2 separate regions of the Homo sapiens genome follow, and region 1 is linked to region 2. Evidence: promoter capture Hi-C in 16 types of primary human blood cells and fetal thymus (Javierre and others, 2016). All regions are on one chromosome and are shown on one strand. The core of a region is centred on a gene start or on the middle of the fragment in contact, and the rest is flanking DNA. Distances in the headings are between cores, read along the strand shown.

The links. The method cuts DNA at HindIII sites, captures the fragments that hold promoters and counts their contacts. A CHiCAGO score of 5 or more calls a contact.
Region 1: a fragment that was not itself captured here is called in contact with the fragment with the promoter of LSM10 in region 2 in 1 of 17 cell types (fetal thymus); the score reaches 8.9 in fetal thymus.

The regions. Positions count from the first base shown.
Region 1 is chr1:35,881,439-35,885,610 of GRCh38, forward strand. It overlaps AGO1 (argonaute RISC component 1), which reads left to right and starts at 1,771. Exons shown (of 19, transcript NM_012199.5): 1 at 1,771-2,008. The coding sequence starts at 1,984. RefSeq lists a silencer at 1,534-1,993. The HindIII fragment of the contact is 3,739 bases long and covers 203-3,941 here.
Region 2 is chr1:36,395,401-36,399,402 of GRCh38, forward strand. It overlaps LSM10 (LSM10, U7 small nuclear RNA associated), which reads right to left and starts at 2,508. Exons shown (of 2, transcript NM_032881.3): 1 at 2,367-2,508. RefSeq lists enhancers at 1,653-2,365, 2,366-3,077. The HindIII fragment of the contact is 5,014 bases long and covers 1-2,900 here.

The DNA.
Region 1 (4,172 bases), core at 822-3,321, 510 kb before region 2:
GCCTCCTGAGTAGCTGGGATTACAGGTGTCTGCCACAACACCTGGCTAATTTTTTGTATTTTTAGTAGAGACGAGACTTCACTATGTTGGCTAGGCTGGTCTTGAACTCCTGACCTCAGGTGATCCACCCGCCTTGGCCTCCCAAAGTGCTGGGATTACAGGCGTGAGCCACTGCGCCCAGCCACCAATCCAAGTTTTAACAAGCTTTCCAGGTGATTCTGATGGTTGCTGTTTGAGAACCTCTAGAAGCAAGGCATGGTATAAGTGTCAGAAATTAATCTCCTCATGAGTAAGGACCGGTTATGGTCCATCCCTTAAGTTCCCAGCCTCTGCATGGCATCTAGTGTAAAGCAGGCATCAAAAATTTGTGAGTTTATGGGAAAGTGATGTTTGAGCTGGGTCTCTTACCCCGCCTATCACTGCACCAGACCGAATAGGAGGGAGAATGGGAGTTCCCAGAAACTTTGAGACTAGCAAGGAAGTGGTTGTGATACGTCTAGCAAGATATGATAAGGGTCTGCACCAGCATAAGAAACCATCAGAATGGCAGTGAATCATGTGAGAGCAGTTCAGAAGGTAAACATGTCAAGACGTGGTGAACAGCTGAATAGATGGAAAGAACAAGGGATAGAGGAACTGTCATTTCTGACATGAAGGTGCTGTTCGCTGAGATAGGAAGCACAGGGCAAGTATGTTTGTGAGTGAAAGATAAAGTGTTTGGTTTGGACTTCTTAAATTTGAAGTGCTGGTAGGATATCCAGGTGGAGCTGTCCAGCAAACACTTGGAAATGTGAGTATGAGACATGGTTGGAAACAGAGATTTGGAAGGATAGTTGGGCCGTAAGAGTGGATGAGACCTTTAAGGGGAGAGTGGAATGAGAAGAGAGCTGGGTTTGGAACCACAGTGAACAGTTAATGAGGCAAAAGCAAAAGGGGCCCTTTAGAAAGACTGAAAAGGACTTAGGCAATAGGAGACTGCAGAAGATGCCGCAGCCAAGTAGAAGGCTCAGAAGGGAAGTAGAGGCACAGTGACAGATGCTGCAGAGAAATAATTGAAAAGTATCCTTTGGATGTCAACCCCAAAAGTCATTTAAGTGACGTGATGAGGGCAGAAGCTGATTGACAGTTCAGGCATGAACTGTAGATGAGAAAGTGGAGGCAGGTGCTTCCCAGGTCCGGCGGATAGAGCTCTGTAGCTGCACTTAAGTTCAAACTGTGACATCTTCCAGGGTAGGCCGCGTCTCTACTTATCTGTGGTCTCAGCGTCCAGCACATGGCGTGGAAGAGGGGGTGGCGTCAGTGAGTTCAGTGACTAGGGACGGAGAAAGACTTCGTGGAGGCAGTCGCTTTGCAGCCAAGGCTTGAAGGATGAGGGTGATTGGGAGGAGAGGTGGGAGGCAGGGCCCCTGGGCGCTGGAGTGCCAGGGGGTCTGGGAATGAAGTGGGGTTCCCATAATGTGTGCGCGCAGCTCGGTGCGACAGGCGGGGGCTGTGTGTAGGTTTGGAGGGACCTATTTGGGGAAAAGACACAGGGCTGAAGGCTGCTGTGGCGGGATGTCCCTTCGCCCTGCCCCACTTATACCACTGCGCGGTTCCAAGGCACCTCTACTGGCGCCCTCCCGCCGGGCTGCATGGCGACGGGTGACCGCCAGGGGCCGCTGCCTTGGGTCCCCGGTGCCCCCGCCCCTCTCCATTGGCCTTTGTTGCCGTCGGAGCGCCCCGCTTGACTCGTTCCGGTCCGCCCCCTGGGCCCGGCGGTCGCGCCTGCGCACTGGCAGCTGGCCGGGCGCTCGCAGTGGGAGCTGCTGCAGGCTCCGCGGCGGCGGCAACGGAGGCTGCGGGGGCGGCGGCGCGAGCGGCCGGGCTTGGTAGGGGAGCCGAGCCCGGCCCGGGATCCCGAGCAGCGAGAGTGTGGGGTACCTAGGCCCCTCACGCTGGACTTCACAGTCTCCGGGCCGCCTGACCTCCGCACGGGTATATGGGATGGAAGCGGGACCCTCGGGAGCAGGTAAGGGTCCCCAGGAGGGGGAACGGTGCATGCTCCAAGGACTGGGGGATCCCGCATGAAAAGCGTGGTTTCCAAGTGATGGAAGCGCTCCTGAGTGAGGAGAAGGGCTCTCCCACGATGGGGGCCCAGTTTGAAGGAGGCTGTGTGCAGTTCCGGGGGAGAACCATGTGAAGAGAGCCCTGAGATGGGGGCTGTTTGTCCAAGGAGGCTGTATACAGTCCTGCGGGTTGGAAGTAATCTGGGAGAAGGGCCTGCACGCACGGAAGGACTCCCAGACATCCGTGGAGGCCTACGGAGAGGCCCGGCAGGTGGCAGGGGACGGGCTCCAGGTGTCCAGGAGAGGAGGGGGCGACACAGATGGGCCTGGAGCTACCGCATGCCGGGGGCGGGGGCTCCGCTGGGCTGGAATAGGCTAATGTCTCTTGGGAGAAGGCGCCAGAGCTGGACTGTGAGCTCCGCCCCACTGGGCCTGACGCGAGGGCGAGGGTCAGGGGGCGGTGGGTGGGGACCCAGTCCCGGGATTACCCCCCGTGGGTCTGGGGAGTCGGAGCGGAGGCTCCAGAGCATGCGCGGAGGTGGCAGCTGGAAGGGGCTGCCCGACGTGGTGGGGGCGTGGCTGTCCGAATACCCCCACCTCTCCACACCCCCCCGCCCCGCCCCGTTTGGCTTGGAAAAAGGAGCGCGCTGATGGGGTGCATTCTCTCTTAGGTTATGCTGGCAGTGTGCAAATGGTTATGGTCCCCTCCCCCATTTTAGGGGCTCTTACACTTGGCCCTCAGTCACAGTTTGCTAAGAATGGGTTGAGGGAAGCTGCCAAAGTGCATTTTTCTGCCACAGGAAAGACTGGGACCGAAGCGATGGGTTCTGGGGGTGGGTCCTCCTGAAGATAGGCCTTAGGAAAGGTATTGGTTACGGAGGAATCAAGGACAGGGCAGGGGCTACCTGGAAGGAGTTGTCTGCTTGGTTTGCAAGTTTCTGCTCCAATACTGAGTAGTGATGGGGGCTTTTAATCCAAAGATTTTCCATTGAATTGTCTGTTAAGGTTACACTCTACATTTATAACATTTATTCTAATATTTCTTAATATTTTCATGGCTCCTATCTTCCACTGGATATCTTTCCGTTTTCCTCTCCCCACTCCCCAGAAACTGTCAGGGCTGTCTTTAGAGCCAAGATCTAAACCCTACAAACACGTTGGAGGATGGGGGAGTTTATAGCCTTCATCCTGGTGAGGCCTAGGTGATAGCCTTAACTTCTTATTTGCAGGCAATGAGGAGGAAAAGACATAGGAACAGAGGATAAACTGAGGCAGGATTGCCTCAAGAAAACTGGAGTCCTTAGGATGGGCTGTGGGGTGGTGATACCTCTTGTGTCTTAAGTGTCTTACCCTGTGATGGGACGAGGAGCCTGGACCTGGGAATCCTTCAGGTCATCTCTCACCACTTCCTTACATTTGGTCTGGGGATGGGAATCAAATTTCCATTTAGGCCATGAACTTCATTACTTTCCTAGTGGAATTATTTTGTTTTTTTTGTAGCAGACCTAACTCCCTCCCACCCTCCCAAGGAAATAGCTCCTACGACCTCACTCAAGTTATCCATTTAGTGATCTCTAAGTACTTAGTGACTGTTTTCCCTCTTAACAACCAGCCTTGTATAGACTGTGTAGTCGTAAGGATAAGCACAGGGAGCAACTGACTTGAGTACTTCCTCTCTGTCAGGACCCTCTCTCCATCCCAGGAACTTCTGTTTTTCAAGGCTGGGGACTATTTCCAACAACCCATGAACTAGAGTAGTGGGGTAGGTCATTGAGGTCCACATGGATTGCTGGTTGCTGGTACCCATTCTAGACTAATGATTTTTATCCTGATGAATTCCTAATAGGCTCTGGAGTGATGAAAAATTGACTTTTTAAAAATTTGTTACAAAAAATAAGCTTATAGGAAAGGAGCTAGAACCTGCTGTTTGGAGTCAGCCAAAGCCTTGGGAAAAGCCGAATAGGACAGGCTTTGCCTCAGTAAAGGGTATAATTGAGATTCAGTCTGGAAGCTGCAAATTGAGGGACCCCATAACTGCCTCCTTCCTAGGCCCGGACTGTTCTCTTATAAGAAGTTAGAGTGGTGTCCCAAGGTGGCCTGAGGACATAATACACAAAACTAAAGCGT
Region 2 (4,002 bases), core at 1,258-3,757:
ATAACTTTAAAAAAAGAAAAATATGGCTAGGAGAGGTAACTTGCCCAAGGTCACAGTAAATAAGTGGAATTGCTGGAATTCAAATCCGTAGCCACAGGCCGGGCGTGGTGGCTCCCCGCTGTAATCCCAGCACTTTGGGAGGCCAAGGTGGGTGGATCACTGGGGCTAGGAATTCAAGACCAGCCTGGCCAATATGGTGAAACCCCATCTCTACTAAAAATACAAAAATTAGTCGGGCATGGTGGTGAGCACCTATAATCACAGCTGCTCCGGAGGTTGAGGCAGGAGAATCGCTTGAATCCGGGAGGTGGAGGCTGCAGTGAGCCAAGATCACGCCACTGCACTCCAGCCTGGGTAACAGAGAGACTCTGTCTCAAAAAAAAAAAAAAAGAAAATCCATAGCCGTCTGGCTCCAAACCTCACACCAGGTGTGCATTAGAATCATCTGGTGAGTTTTTAACCCAACCTCCCCACCCCAGAGATTCTGATTCGTTTGGTTAGAGGGGTGGGCCCAGGTATCCTATTTTGTAAAAGCTCCCGGCTGGGCGCGGTGGCTCACGCCTGTAATCCCAGCACTTTGGGAGACCGAGGCGGGCGGATCATGAGGTCAGGAGATCAAGACCATCCTGGCTAACATGGTGAAACCCCCATCTCTACTAAAAATACAAAAAAATTAGCCAGGCGTGGTGGCGGGCGCCTGTAGTCCCAGCTACTCGGGGGGCTGAGGCAGGAGAATGGCGTGAACCTGGGAGACAGAGCTTGCAGTGAGCTGCAAGTGGAGTGCCACTGCACTCCAGCCTGGGCAGCAGAGTGACTCCATCTCAAAAAAAAAAAAAAAAAAAAAAAAAAGAAAGCTCCCCAGATAACTCCAAAGTGCTGAGGGGTACTGGTTAGAAATGCGCAATCTCAGGTCTCTCCCCAAGCCTGTTCTGAGATAAAATCCACTCCTTCACTGAGTGGCTCACTGCCATCTTCCACGCTGGCTGGAAACAGACTGCATTTTAACATGACCCCCTACGTGAATTAGATACACGTTAAGGTTTGAGAATCATTGGTTGACACCAGTAGTTCTCAAACATTAGTGTGTATCAGAATCATCTGAGGGGCTTGTTAACTCAGCTTGCTGGGCCCCACTCCCAGTTTGACTCAGGTCTGAGGTGAGGCCCAGAGATAAAGTCATTTTGAACATGTTCCCAGGTGATGCTGATGCTGCTGGTCAGGGGCCCACACTCTGGGAACTATTGGTCTACACCATGCAGCTGTTATGTAAGTAGAAATTAAGGTAATGAGGCCGGGTGCAAGGGCTCACGCCTGTAATCCCAGGATTTTGGGAGGCCAAGGCGAGTGGATCACCTGAGGTCAGGAGTTCAAGACCCGCCTGGCCAACATGGTGAAACCCAGTATCTACCAAAAATACAAAAATTACCTGGGCATGGGCGCACCTGTAATCTCAGCTACTTGGGAGGCTGAAGCAGGAGAATCGCTTGAACCCAGGAGGCAGAGGTTACAGTGAGCCAAGATTGTGCCACTGCACACCAGCCTGGGTGACACAGCGAGACTCTCAGAAAAAAAAAAAGAAAATAAATCTGGATAATGAATTGGGGAAAAAAACCCCCAACCGGTATTATATAAGGTACATAGGTTTTGAAGGTAGAGAAACCTAGGTTGGAATCCCCACTCCACCCCTAATTATGAAAACCTAGAAAAGTTAATGTCTCTGAACCTGTTTCCACATTTATTAAACTACAGGAGAAACAAAGCTACCAGAATCACACTCCACTAAAGGTACTCTCCTTTGATTTCAACATGCCCTGATAATGTATTAGTGCACTATGTCTTACCTATCCCTTATTTTCAGACCTGAGTTAAAGGGGGTGGAACGCTCTCTCTTTACGACCTCACTCAGCATCCCGTCCAGGGCTGTGCATTGTGGCACTGAGCGTGGCAAGCCAGACTAGGCCAGTGACGAGGGGGCCTGGGAGCTAGGTCCCTGGGCATGGCCTAACGACCAGCCACCCGGCTGCAGCCTGATGAATCTGCGATCAAGCAAAGGTATGGGGCTGCTGCTGCGACTGCAAAGAGCAGTCACCGGACCTCGAGTCAGGCCCGGGTTCTAGAACAGGCTTTGCCACCTCCTAGGAGGGCGATCACTTAGCAAACCACTTAGCTTCTCCAAGCTAGCTAAGCTACCGGTAAAACGGGATGAGCACCGCTTACTCAGAGCAGCGGGAGCGGGTCTGGGGAAAGGAGCTATACTCGGTAAATGGGGAAGAAAACGCTTCCTGGGCTCCGGCACCTCCTTCCGGAGGTCCTGGCATCCCCCGCATTCCGCCCCGGGGCTCCCTGCACCGCCGACCCGGACCCACCACGCGACATTCCTTCCGCTTTCCCCGTCTGGGTCGCCGCCGAAGCTAGCGGGCGCCTGGACTGGCTGCCTCCCGCCGGCTGCAGCAGGACGGAGAAACCATGCCGGCGACCGGGCCGCTCTGTCCTCCGGGCGCAGAGTGCGTCAGTGCTCTGCAAGTCACCGCGTCACGGAGAAACTACAATCCCCAGAATGCTTCGCGGCGCGGGGCTCGTGCTCCGCAAATCCCGGCCTGCGTCATTGGAGTCTCTTTCACTAGAGTCGTTCATTCATTCCGCACGCATTCATTGAACCGGCGACCTGGGCCAGGCTCCTTCCCAGGCTCCGGCATGGAGCAGTGACCAAGATCAAGTGGCTCCCTGAGCTGATGGCGCTGCAGGGGAGAGAGTCTTAAGAAAACAAAGAAGAAAAATAGGGAAAAATTTCTTCAGAAGATTAAAGGTGTGATGTGATGGTGACAAGGTGGTCTTTTATTGGATTGTCAGGGGTGCCCTGAGAAGGTGACATTTGAGTTGAGATTAGTGACATGAAGCCAAGCTTGTGAAAACTATGGGAGGAGCATTGCAATTAGCGGGAACAGTTTGTTAAGTAAAATTTATAGGAGGCAGGGCCGGGTGCAGAGGCCCACACCTGTAATCCCAGCACTTTGGAGGACAAGGCGGAAGGATCACTGGAGCCCAGGAGTTCGAGACCAGTCTGGGCAACAATGGGGAGACCCTGTCTCTACAAAAAATAGAAAAAATTAGCCCACCGTGGTGGCGTACACCTCTGGTCCCACCTACTTGGGAGGCTGAGGCAGGAGAATTGCTTGAATCCAGGAAGTGGAGGCTGCAGTGAGCTCAGAAAGTAACACTTCATTCCAGCCTGGGCAACAGAGCAAGACTCCGTCTCAAAAAAAAAAAAAAATTGGAGGCCATTGGTTTGAACAGGGCTCCTGCACCAAGCCCAACAGAACCAAAATGGAGTCACTCATGCTAAAGTTCTACATCACCAAGTGGAAACTAAGTTGTTTATCTGATATTCCGATAAATCAGAAGAGTGAGAGATAGCTAGATCTCCAAACCATCCTGTTTTAGCTGGCAGGATAAGGAAGTCCCCTCTGCTTTAGCCTTCAAAGTTACAAGGAAAGTAACTTTGAAACAACCAATCTTTTTGTTTTCTGTTTCTGCTTTCCTCAGCCCTTTTCTGGCTGTAAAACCAATCTCCTCTGCTCAGCTCATTTGAACACTCATTCCATTTTATAGAATGAAGTGTTGCCCGATTCTAGAGTTGCAAATAAAAGTCAGATTTAACAAATTTGGCAAAAAAAAGTCAAATCACCAATTAAAAGTTAAATTTTTTCTTTTCACAGTTCATGCAAAGAACCTGGGGGAAATGACCTTGACAATTTAGGAACACAGGAAAGGCCAGGGAAGCTGGGGAGAGTGGTATAACAAGAGGCCAGAGAGGAAGCAGGAACCAGAGCATATAGGGCTTTGTGAGCCAAGGTAAGGAGTTTAGATTTCATGGTTAGGAGTGCAGCCTCCGGATACAGTGCCTAGGTTCAAATCTACTCCTGGCTAATTGTGACTTTGGGCAAGTTAGTATCTTCTCTGTGCCTCAGTCTTCTCATCTAGTACTAGAAGTGCTATGACAGG